Regions from separate parts of the Homo sapiens genome. Here region 2 is linked to region 1. Evidence: promoter capture Hi-C in 16 types of primary human blood cells and fetal thymus (Javierre and others, 2016). All regions are on one chromosome and are shown on one strand. The core of a region is centred on a gene start or on the middle of the fragment in contact, and the rest is flanking DNA. Distances in the headings are between cores, read along the strand shown.

Region 1 (6,327 bases), core at 1-2,500:
CGGTGGCGGTCCAGCGTCATGGCCAGGATCATGTAGGAGGAGGCATACATGCCCACCATCTGCAGATACTTCACGGCCCGACACAGGGCATCTGGCCCACGGAAGCGGTCGGTGGCCTTCCAGGCCAGCTGGGGCAGCACTTGGAACAGAGCCACGGCCAGGTCGGCCAGGCACAAGTGGCCAATGAAGACGTGTATGGGTGCCCAGTGGCCCCGCCGGCCCCGCCGAGCTAGGGCCGCCAGCACCAGGCCATTGCTCAGGGCCACAGCCACAAAGACTATGGAGAGCAGCGCCAGCTCCGCCCGGGCTAGCAGCGGGTCCCGGGTGTCCAGTGGCCTCTCCTGGCTGCTGTTGCTGGGCAGGCTGGGCAGAGAGGGATGCCCAGGCACAGCTGGGAAGGAGTCGGGAAGAGGGCCTGGTTAGAGAGGGTGCTGTGCAGGGGGACTCAGGCCTGCCTCCCGTGCCCCCATCCGGACACCCACTTCCTGGCTCCTAGCAGAGGGGACTCCAGGAAAGCCATGTTATGAGGGATACACACCCCAGGCTCATGCAGTCCAGAAGGAAGGGCAGCCCCAGCCCCAGCCCCAGCCCCAGCCCTGGCGGGGAAGTGGGGCTGTGCTCCCCTCCCCACTCATTGGCAGCCTGGAGAGACACACCCAGAGGTGAGGGTGAAGGAGGTCTTTAGAAAGAGGGGCTTCCCTGAATCGTCAAACCCACTCTGCCCACCGGACTCATGGAGGGGCAAGCCTTACCGGAAGTGGTGGACGCCATGAGCATGGTGGGGCTGGGGCAGGTGTTCTGAGGGCCTGGAGGTGATGTGCGGACTCAGCCTCTGCCTGAGGAGCAAGTTCAATGGCCCAGGGTCTCTGGACTGGAGCCCTTATAGAGATGCCAGCATGGCAGATGCCTGTTGGCGTGTGTGCACGTGTCGGTGGCAGTATGGCCAGTCCTGGGCAGGGAAGATTGAGAGGGATGGTCAGACAGACGGATGCACAGAACCCAGGATCCCCCAGGCAGCCCATGAGTCCCGGGTTTGGGAGTGGGCACCCCAGACAGACACGCAGAACTCCCCTGCCCCAACCGAGGCCGAGAGAGGCCACCATCCGAGGGCTGGGGACTGGGCAGGGGGGCAGGCAGGCGCAGCCCCTTACCTGGCTGGGCTCCTGGGCAGCTGGGCGGTGGCGTGAAGGTGGCTGGGTGCTCAGATCTGCTCTCCATCGGCTGCCCTGCCCTGGCCCAGCCCAGCCTCTGGGAGTGACCTGGCCAGGAGGGGACTTCCTCCCCCTCCCCCTTTCCCCCAGGCCTCCCCTGGCCTCCTGTTTCCCTTCCTTTCCCCAGGGCCTCCCTGGTCCCGGCCCAGGACTCCCTCCTCCCACTGCCATAGCCTCCACGCCCACCCTCACCCTACCACGCCCCCCTGGTTGGATTGTCTGGGTTGGCAGTGCTCTGGGAGGTCACTTAGTTCAGCATTCCCATTTTATAAGTGGGGAAACTGAGGCCAGAGAGCGGTGGGTCTGGCCCAGGACTGCGCTGCTTTTTCATGGGAGCTTCACGCCCCCTTCCCAAGTTGGGGTCCTCCTGCTCCTCGCTGGGCCCAGGCAAGGAAGGGGTGAAAACACTTTCGCTGGGCCCCTCCCAGGCCCACGCAGGCCCCTCCTCCTCCCCAGTTAGGGCCCAGTTGGCCGGAGACGAGGGACAGGAAAGGGAGGAGTGGGGCAGGGGCCAAGCCAGGCTTCACGAACCCCTGTGAGATCCAGGGACACCCCCACCCTCTTCCTCCTGCCCCACCTGCAACTACCTGTCCTAGGAAGAGGGGCTGGGGACCTCCGTGTGCTCACGGGCTCCCTCCCACCACACACAACCTCACATGATACAGCCACACAGCCACAAACACACAACACAGAGACGCTCGCTCATGTTCTTGAACATACCATGAGTATGGACGCACCTTCCCTGTACCTGAGCCCTCCTCCTCCCTCCCCCAACACCTCTCTCCTTCCCCTGTCCCCACACCCCCTCCAGCCCCCATCCCAGTAGTTCTCTTTCCACTCCCCCCGCACCCAGGCCTGGCTTGGCTCAGCCGAGGCCAGCCCAGCCCAGCCCAGCCCAAGGCAGCTGCTTTCTTCCTGTTTGTCTGTCTTCTCTGTTGCCTGTGAAGCCAGAGACCAAAACAGCCTCACGGACCAGGCCCAAGTCCGGCCCGCGGCCAAGGCCTCCTCTTCCTGCCCAGAGAGCCTGGCAGCACCCTGGCCCCTCCCGGCCCTGTTAGGGTGGTGGGAACACAGGGTGGGCATTTTCCAGAGACAGCGCACACACCACACCACATACATACATGCACACAGCCACACGCCACACACACATGCACCCACCACACACCCATACGCCACACCACACACACACCACACCATGCACACATATATTACACACCACACACATGCACACATCACACACTCCCATACGCCACACACCCACACATGTACCCACCACACAGCCATACACACCACATACGCACAGCCAACACCACACACGCACACACCCGCAGCACACACAGGTGCACATCACACCCCGCATCTTTGCCATGTTTTTGCAGAGCCCCTTGGGGGCAGGCTGCAGAGTGCTGGCACCCCAGGCCTGACGCTTCAGCTGCATCTCCTCAGCGCATGCACATCCTCATGCTGTCCCCAATAACCGCATGCTGTCACTAATCTAGGAGCATAGAAAAGGCCTTCCTAATGCCACCCAGATCAGTGGAATAGGAGATGGCTTCCCTCAACTGGCAGAGAATTTGGGGACCCTGGCTGGGGAATAGGAAAGCAAGGCTCCAGCCCCTGCTTGGCCCCTGCCCAGTAGTGTGACCTTGAACAGGCCACGCCAGCTCTTGGCACCTCAGCTTCCCCTTCTGTGCAATGGGACTTGATGATTGAGGGAGACTACGGTGGTAAGATGGGCAGGGGTGGGGACTGGCAGGGCCTTGGGAAAGCCTTTGTTCCCTCCGTCTAAAGCCGGCTAGGGCGAGGAATCCATGCTAACCTTTTGGGGTGAGCAGACAACCATCTCCTTATCAGTTTCTCTGCCTGAACGAGGCTGTGCAGTGCCGGATCTCAGCAGCAGGTTGGGACCTCCCCTAGCAATGTGGCCAGGCCCGTGGCAATCTCTGCCCCCCTGGACTCCTCGCTTCCTGTTGTTAAACTAGGGAAGAATCTGGAGGAAGGGCCCGCATGGCGGTCTCCTCTGGGATGCAAGAAGCCAGATCAGGATCCAGTGCCATTCTGCTCAGCCAGGACCCCGGGGAGGAACTGGGAGCCACATGGGCAGGCACTACATGGAACTGTGCCAGGAGAGAGGCCCTGGGCAGCCACCCCTCGGGGGCCAAGAAAGATGGGGCTGGGCAGCAGCTCCCATGGGAAGAAGGGCAGACTGTGCTGATTCACGCTAGGCCCACATGAGTCACTCAAGCCCCTGCCCTTGGGCGTTAACGGGCAGGGCATCTACCTGGGGGTGTGCCAGGCCCCCACTCCTGCCAGCGCAGCCCCTGTGTGCACACCTCCCACTGGTCCCTCTAAGACTTGCAGAAAGGGCTCTGTGAGTGCCAAGGTGTGGCTCCTGATCTTCCAGCCTAGTGTCTGGGCAGAAGAGGACAGGAGGCAGATTGGGGGGACACTGTTTGTCCCTCTCTATCTACCGGTTCCCCATGATCAGAACCTTCCATTCACCAAACTGCAAGTGCCGCTGGCCTAGCACTGTGGCTGCAGAGATGGAAGGACCTGGGCTCTGCCCCAGGAGCACATGGGCTTCTGCAGAGAAGAGTGGAGGCAGGGAGGCTGGTGGAAGCTGTGCCTGTCACCCAGGAGAGAAATGGTGCGACCCACTTAACACTGGGCAGCGGGGCTAGAGGGAGCAGGCAGGTGGAAAAGGCATTTAAAGGGCCCTGAAGGATTTGTAAGGGGTGGAAGACAAAGAGGAGGCAGCCAAGGACGAGGAGAAAGAGGCCCCCGATTGTGTGGGAGGGGTGCATGTGCAGATGGTGGAGCCTGTGGGCAGTGGGAAGGACGGAGCCAAGTGCCTGTCAACAGGAACGGCCCTCACAGGGACTGTGACCCGAAGGAGAATACCTAGAGCCCAGGAGATAGGGAGGAACAACGGGTTGGAGGATGGGATTGAAGGGGACAAAAACAAATTTAATAAAAACTCAAGTGTACTTGTGTGAATGTGAGGGTGTGTGTGAGGGTGTGCGTGTGTGAGGGTGTGAGAGTGTGTGAGGGTGTGTGTGAGAGTGTGCGTATGTGAGGGTGGGCGTGTGTGTGGGGTGTGTGTGGTGTGTGGTGTGTGAGGGTGTGCATGTGAGGGTGTGTGGTGTGTGTGTGGCGTGGGTGGTTGTGTGTGAGGGTGTGTGGTGTGTGTGTGTGTGGCGTTGGGGGGGTTGTGTGTGAGGGTGTGCGCGTGTGTGAGGGTGTGTGCGTGTGTGAGGGTGTGTGCGTGTGTGAGGGTGTGTGCGTGTGCCAATGATGACAGGAAGACAGCCTGCGGATGATCATCTAATTGTGTCCATTCACCTAAGTGAATAATAACTGGGAAAGCTGGACAGAGCCTGTTTATAGCTGCGGAAAGGCAGCCCATGGAACTGGATAGATTAAGAGCCTCGCGGAGTGGAAGGGAGGGCCAGGGTCTCCAGCAGGTGCTGGGGTGAGGGGCGGGGGGTAGAAGGAGGGTGAGCGTTGAGGGCTTGAGGGCCGTACCCATAGATGGCCTCCAGGTCATCATGTGAGAGTCAGGCAGGAGGCGGCTCCCTGGCAAAACTGCAGAGATTTTTTTTTTTTTTCTTTTTTAAAGGCAGTGGCCCCTCCCGCTTTCCTCCCCAGAGGCGGCCGACTGCAGTTGCTGTTAGTGGGCTGTTTGGGTAACTGCCTCGGGGTTTCCCAGTCTGACTTCCTCTTGCTCTCTCTGCCTGCACGTTCCTCCCCCAGATTATTGCAGCAGCTGCTCCGGGTGTCTTCAGTGCTCATGCACTCACCACCCTGGAATGGCCCTCCGCAGGCAATGATTTCTCTCCTCCAGAATGACTTTTTTTTTTTTCGGCTTTATTGAGGTATGATTAGCATACAGTAAAATTCATTAATTGTAATTGTACTGTTCAGTAAGATTTGACAAATGTATACAGTCGTGTAACCACAACCACAATCATGACATAGAATAAATATTTTCGACATTCCAGAAAGTTCCCTCGTGGCCTTTTGCAGTCAAGCTTCTTCCCCTACCTGAAAGCCTAGCAACCACTGATCTATCACTATAGATTTTCCTTTTCTAGAATTTTATATAAATAGAATCATAGAGTATGTAGTATTTTCAAAAATTAGCCGGGCGTGGTGGCGCAAGCCTGTAATCCCAGCTACTCAGAGGCTGAGGCTGGAGAATCGCTTGAACCCGGGAGGCGGAGGTTTCAGTGAGCCGAGATCTTGCCATTGCACTCCAGCCTGGGTGACACAGCAAGACTCCGTCTCAAAAAAAAATAATAATAAAAATAAATAAATAAATAAAAGAGTACATAGTATTTTGTGTAACTTCTTTTTTTTTTTTATATTTTTTTTGGTGGGGAGGAGGCATAGTCTCTCACTCTGTCACCCGGTATACTGAAAGCTTTTATCACAAGTGAGTATTGAATTTTTTTCTTTTTTTTCTTTTTTTTTTTGAGTCGGAGTTTCACTCTTGTTGCCCAGGCTGCAGTGCAATGGCGAGATCTTGGCTCACTGCAACCTTCGCCTCCCAGGTTCAAGAGATTCTCTTGCCTCAGCCTCCCAAGTAGCTGGGATTACAGGCAAGCGCCACCATGCCCAGCTAATTTTGTACTTTTAGTAGAGACGGGGTTTCTTCATGTTGGTCAGGCTGGTCTCGAATTCCCGACCTCAGGTGATCCACCTGCCTCGGCCTCCCAAAGTGCTGGGATTACAGGCATGAGCCACCACACCCGGCCAATTTTTGTGTTTTTAGTAGAGACAGGGTTTCATCATGTTAACCAGGATGGTCTCGATCTCTTGACCTCTGATCCACCCACCTTGGCCTCCCAAAGTGCTGGGATGACAGGTGTGAGCCACTGTGCCTGGCTGTTGTTTACCATTTTTACATCTGTATTAATGAGAGATGCTGGTCTACGTTTTCCCTTTCTGTAATATCTTTGGTTTGGGGATGAGTATAATGCTGACTTTATAAAACGAGTTGGGAAGTGTTCTCTCTTTTTCTGTTTTCTGGAAGAGTTAGTATAGAATTGGTATTATTTACACAAACCTGGAGTTTTCTTTGTGAGAATTTTTTCAGTTATAAATTCAACTCTTC
Region 2 (6,327 bases), core at 1,092-3,591, 59 kb after region 1:
CAGCATCTAATCAATAGACAAATAGAAAGCTGGCATATATAGACAGAGGCTGCGAAGACAGGTATAGTGTCACTTCATTAATTGTACAATGTAAGTTCTCTCCAGTCCCAGTATGGATAGATAAACAAAGGGTTGTCTGTTATCCAGGGAGACTTAATAGGCTGTTATAATAACATAACTTGATTGGGACTGATGCCTGAGAAAGTGCCGATAGGATGAGTTTTCCTCAACTTAAAACAGATAGGGCAGTTTGGGCTCGGTGGTTCATGCCTGTAATCCCAGCACTTTGGGAGGCCGAGGTGGGCATATCACCTGAGGTCGAGAGTTCGAAACCAGCCTGACCAACGTGGAGAAACCCCGTCTCTACTAAAAATACAAAAATTAGCCGGGCGTGGTGGTGCAAGCCTATAATCCCAGCTACTCGGGAGGCTGAGGCAGGAGAATCACTTGAACCCGGGAGGCGGAGGTTGCTGTGAGCCGAGATCACACCATTGCACTCCAGCCTGGGCAACAAGAGCAAAGCTCCATCTCAAAACAAACAAACAAACAAAAAACAGATAGGGCTGTGTACATTACACCCTGGAAGTTCATAGTAAGACTTTGATCTGCCGGGCGCAGTGGCTCACGCCTGTAATCCCAGCACGTTGGGAGGCCAAGGCTGACGGATCATGAGGTCAGGAGATCGAGACCATCCTGGCCAACATGGTGAAACCCCGTCTCTACTAAAAATACAAAAAATTAGCCAGGCGTGGTGGCAGGCGCCTGTAGTCCCAGCTACTCGGGAGGCTGAGGCAGGAGAATGGCGTGAACCCGGGAGGCGGAGCTTGCAGTGAGCCGAGACCACACCACTGCACTCCAGCTTGGGTGACAGAGCGAGACTCCGTCTCAAAAAAAAAAAAAAAAAAGACTTCGATCCTAGATATGGCCATAGGTATCTTTGTAGTTCACATTGAGAAATACCACTCAGGAAGACAAAACAATTACCAAAGTGCCTACATTATTATTGTCAATATGATGTTACAGGGCCAGGCATGGTGGCTCACGCTCGTAATCCCAGCACTTCAGGAGGCCAAAGTGGGTGGATCACTTGAGGCCAGGAGTTTGAAACCAGCCTGGCCTGGTGGTAGGCACCTGTCATTCCAGCTACTCAGGAGGCTGAGGTAGGACAATCGTTTGAACCCAGGAGGTAGAGGTTGCAGTGAGCTGAGATCGTGCCACTGTACTCCAGCCTGGGCAACAGAGCAAGACTCCTCAAAAAAAAAAAAAGTTACATATATATACATATATATGTGTATACATATATATATGTATATATATGTGTATATATGTATATATCTATATATATGTGTATATATGTATATATCTATATATGTATATATCTATATATGTGTGTATATATATGTATATATCTATCTATATATATACACATACACACATATATGATGAAAACTCAAGAAATTCTGGGGGTCTTACAAGGAAAACTCTTCATTAAAAATTTATAAGACTCCAGAGTTAAACTACTCCTTAAGCTTGGATTGGATAAGATTTTGTAAGGAGCCATGAAATAATATTCAAATGGTTAGCCATTTGAAAGCTCAGGCAATGAAGATGTCATGACAGCTAGTACAATTAATGTGTGATGGAGGGAAATGTTTACACATTTGCCTACAAAGAATCTGATTGAACCCTGAACCATTGATGTGATATATTTGAAGGTTGTCCTCCAAGGCAAGTATTGTACTGAATTCAAAAACTGATGCTATTGCAATTGTGGTCATTGTTTTGCATTTTACTACGGGCTAGCTGGATATTTAGGCATCTGCAACTTGCCCAGAAGAAGGTAAAAGCAACAATGGTGTTAATTAAATATCGCAATGTTATTATTTCATAGTAACACAGGAAGAAGATTGTAAGGGCAAATACAGATTAAAAACAAGAGGCTTAATTCTCTCTGTTGAAAATAAGGTAAGAGACTCCCTGCACCTTTTTCCTTTATCTTTTGGAATTTCTTTCTCTGTCCTTTTCAAATGTATGTAGATGTTTTTAATGGCTAAAGAAGCTCTGGCCAGTTTCACAACTCAGGAATGTTTCCTCTCCTCTGGGATCCGGGAGCCAGCTTTTCGAAATGTAATTAATCATCCAGGAAGATAACTCTCTTCATCTCTCAGTTTCAGCTGCCACCTGGCTCCGAATTGTGAAACCTGCCTACTGTAGTGGATACAGACCCACTTAGCTGTATAGAAGAGTGAGGCCCTTTCTGTCTTTTGTTTTTAATTAAATTTCCCCAACATACTCCATAGCAATGGGGAAAGGACAACACCTGTTATAATAACATAACTTGATTGGGACTGATGCCTGAGAAAGTGCCTGGTCAGATGAGTTACATTTCCCCAACATACTCCATAGCAATGGGGAAAGGGGACAACTCCTTTCCCCATTGCTATGGAGTATGTTGGGGAAATTTAATTAAAAACAAAATCTTCTCCCAACCCAGAAAACCTCTCCACAAAAGTAGAAGAGAAAGAAAACAATTTATAATTGAATACGCATTAAACCAGAATGCGGTGTGCATCACAGGTAACCCACTGGAGGCATTGCAAAGACAGAAAGGAAGAAGACTAGCGCCCTAGCAGCCCCTTTGGGTCATGGCCTCGTCCCAAGGATGCAGAGGGCGGGCACTGAGACCATGAAGGCATGAAAGGAGAGGAAGGACTTGATTTGCGAGTTGTGCAAGTCATAGAATTGGCAATATCCCCTCCCCAGGGGTTCACACTGTGCATTTTCTCCAGCAGGCAATTGTGATGGGACCAGAGAATTGCCAATGGCTCCCTTGCAATGTAAAAGTGCCCAAGTTCCGATATGTGTAAGCAAATGCCTCTGCCCTCAAAGGGAGATGCATCTCAATGCACTGTTGCTTTTAAAGGAAGAGAGTACTTTGGTCAGCTTCCTGGCATTGCTTAAAAACAAGACCCAAAATGGACCTTGTAATAAGACCCTACAGAATCCTTCTTGAGGATCTTCAGCCTGGAAGTCTTTTTGTTTTTTTTTTTTAAAGAAAAAACAAATTTTGACCACTGCCTGACATTATACACAAAAAAATCAATTCCAGGTATGTTGTAGATCTAAGAACAAAAGGCAAAACAATAAAGCTTGTAGAAGACAACAGGAGAATATCTTCAGGACCTGGGGCTTGGGAAAGATTTCTGCTTTGCTTGCTAGGAGGCTGTCTGACTCCTCCTTTGGCCAACAATGGAGTTGGCAGGGGGTTTCCATGCACCCCGTTGCTTTTGTGTTGCTATGCAGAAGAGTGGAAATGCTGTCTCTCACTACCACCTTTACGTGTTTCTACCCAGTATCCTTTTAGAAGAGATGTTCTTTCTTTTTCAAGGAACGCCTGTCGAAATGCATCAAATGCCTAGTCAGCAACTAGTGATCCTGTGAGTTTCCTCCTTTAATTTGCTGAGTAATGAATTCTGTGGAAAGATTTCCTGATGTTCAATCACCTCTGTATTTCTGGAGTAGACCCGAAATTCTATTCTATTCATAATAATAGAATATTATGTCTTGCTCAGACATAATGTCTTATTCTTTTGCTATATCGCTGGAATCCATGTGCTTATCTTTTATTTATAATTTTTGCATTTGTAATCAGAAGTGACAGTTGTTCACAGGTTTCTTTTTGTACTCTGTTTAGGAGGTTTGGGCATCAACCTAGGTTTAGGTATTGTTGGCTTTATGAAATGTTTTTGTGTGGACTGGAATAGTTTAAATGATATCAGAATTATTTTGTCTTGAAAGATTATATAGGACTTGGCTTTGAAACTACTTAGGGTTGGTACTGTTTTTATGGAGAATCCCCTCTCTATTTTATTTTATTTGACACAGGGTCTCCCTCCATTGCCAGGGCTGGAGTACAGTGGCATGACTGTAGCTCAGTGCAGCCTCAAATTCCTGGGCTCAAGCGATCCTCTCACCTCACCCTCCTGAGCAGCTAGGACTACAGGTGTGTGCCACCACGTCCAGCTAATTTTTTAATTTTTGTTTTTGTAGAGATGGGAGTCTCACTATATTGCTCAGGCTGGCCTCAAACTCCTAGACTCAAGTGATCCTCCCACCTTGGCCTCCCAAACTGTTGGGATTACAGGCGTGAGCTACTGAGTTTGGCTTCCTTCTCTACTTTAAAATGGTAATTTGTAGACTCAAATTTTCTAGTTCTTGTTGGGTTTTCAGAAAGTTATATTTTGTTAGGAAATTATCAATTTTTTTCTGTTGTTAAAGAATCAGCTTTTGTATTTATTTACAATTTTTACTATTTTATGTTTTTAATCTTTATTCTCTTTTTCCCCCTTCCTTTGTTTCCCCTTTGGCTTCTCTCATTCTTTTTCTGGTTGTCGTTGACTTTTGATCTATCCTCCTTAATCATGCATATCTTGACTATTCTAACTGCCCCTCGTGGAAAGCTTGAGTTGTGTGTAGAGGTTGGGGTAAGACGTGTTCTTCTTTTCACGATGCTCTCGAAGCTTGTCGCTTCTGTATGCTCTCCTCTTTAATCCAATGATTGCTTAAGATAAGTTTTTTCTTTTCAACTTCTTACTTTGAAAATGTAAAAACCTACAGAAAAGTTGCAAGAACAGTACAATGATTTGGTCTCATCATTTGATATACTATTCAGGCATAAAAAGAAATAAAATACTGATCCATGCCACAACACAGATGAGCCTTGGAAGCATTGTGCTGAGTGAAAGAAGCTACACACAAAAGGCCACATAGCGTATGATTCCATTCATATAAAAGATCAGAATAGGCAAATCCATAGAGACAGCAAGGAGATGAATGGTTGCCAGGGGCTAGAGGAGGGGGGAACGGAGATTGATTGCTAACAAGTAAGGGGTTTCTTTTTGGGGTGATGAAAATGTTCTGGAATTATTAGTGATGGTGGCACAACATTGTGAGTATACTAACAACCACCGAATTGTATGTATGCTTTAAAGTGGGTAATGTGATTACCTTTTTTTTTTTTTTTTTTTTTTTTTTTGAGACAGAGTCTCTGTCACCAAGGCTGGAGTGCAGTGGTGTAATCTCGGCTCACTGCAGCCTCCGCCTCCCGGTTCAAGGGATTCTCCTGCCTCAGCCTCCTGAGTAGCTGGGACCACAGATGCGCACCACCACGCCCAGCTAATTTTTGTATTTTTAGTAGAGACGGGGTTTCACTATGTTGGCCAGGCTGGTCTCGAACTCCTGACCTCAGGTGATCCGCCCGCCTCGGCCTCCCAAAGTGCTGGGATTACAGGCGTGAGCCACCATGCCCGGCCTATTGTTTTTTTTAATTTTGCCTTTAAAATTGTGAATTATATGAAAATACAGAAAATGTATACAGACAGTTTAAGGACTAAAAATAAACCACCAACTACTGATGACAATAAACCTGAAACAAAGTAGAAATATACTAAATTTACTAAAACAGACAAAAAAAGGCCGGGCATGGTGGCTCACACCTGTAATCCCAGCACTTTGGGAGGCCGAGGCGGGTGGATCACTTGAGGTCAGGAGTTTGAGACCAGCCTGGCCAACATGGTGAAACCCCGTCTCTACTAAAAATACAAAAATTAGCCGGGCGTGGTGGTGGGTGCCTGTAATCCCACCTACTCGGGAGGCTGAGACAGGAGAATCACTTGAACCTGGGAGGTGGAGGTTGCAGTGAGCCGAGATCATGCCACGCCACTGCACTCTAGCCTAGGTGACAGAGTGAGACTCCGTCTCAAAAAAAAAAAAAAAAAAAAAGCAAGCAAGCGAGCCCTAGTAACCCTAAAAGTATAAAACAGATTGAAGCAGCGGTTTAAAAATCTTCCCACAAATAAAACAGCCGGCCCGCATGGTTTTACAGACAAGTTCTAGCAACTCTACAGACTCTGCCAGAGAATTGAAAAGGAAGGACCATTACCCAACAAAACCTTAATATTAACTAGGCAAAAACAGAACAAGATAGGAAGATTGTAGGTCCATTTTGGTCTGGAATACAGAGACAAAAGTCCTAAACAAAAATTTTTCTTTTTTTTTTTTAATGCAGGGAATTCTAATTAGATTGGCATAGTTAAGGCCAAAACTATAGACATTGCTCCCTTATTTACCTTCAACCGTTGCCTTTAAGAGGCAAATGAACACAAAACACAGGTGAATCTTGCTTGGTTCTAAGACAGTGAAGGAATTTCCCCAGTATTTACATATATTCACATAACCAGTCATATAAATCTAAATATAAAACCAATCTCCAGTAAGTTTTAAGACGGCACTCACCATCTTTGTGAAAAGTTGAACATTACTAACGAA

What was found. The method cuts DNA at HindIII sites, captures the fragments that hold promoters and counts their contacts. A CHiCAGO score of 5 or more calls a contact.
Region 2: a contact is called between a fragment that was not itself captured here and the fragment with the promoter of AVPR2 in region 1, in 1 of 17 cell types (M1 macrophages). The highest score is 5.3, in M1 macrophages.

Annotation. Positions count from the first base shown.
Region 1 is chrX:153,899,596-153,905,922 of GRCh38, reverse strand. It overlaps AVPR2 (arginine vasopressin receptor 2), which reads right to left and starts at 1,250. Exons shown (of 4, transcript NM_000054.7): 1 at 1,152-1,250; 2 at 753-949; 3 at 1-391. The coding sequence starts at 777. The HindIII fragment of the contact is 5,945 bases long and covers 1-5,244 here.
Region 2 is chrX:153,841,821-153,848,147 of GRCh38, reverse strand. No RefSeq gene overlaps it. Among named protein-coding and RNA genes, the nearest start is that of PDZD4, 14 kb to the right of the region's middle. RefSeq lists enhancers at 1,788-2,655, 2,656-3,524. The HindIII fragment of the contact is 1,620 bases long and covers 1,532-3,151 here.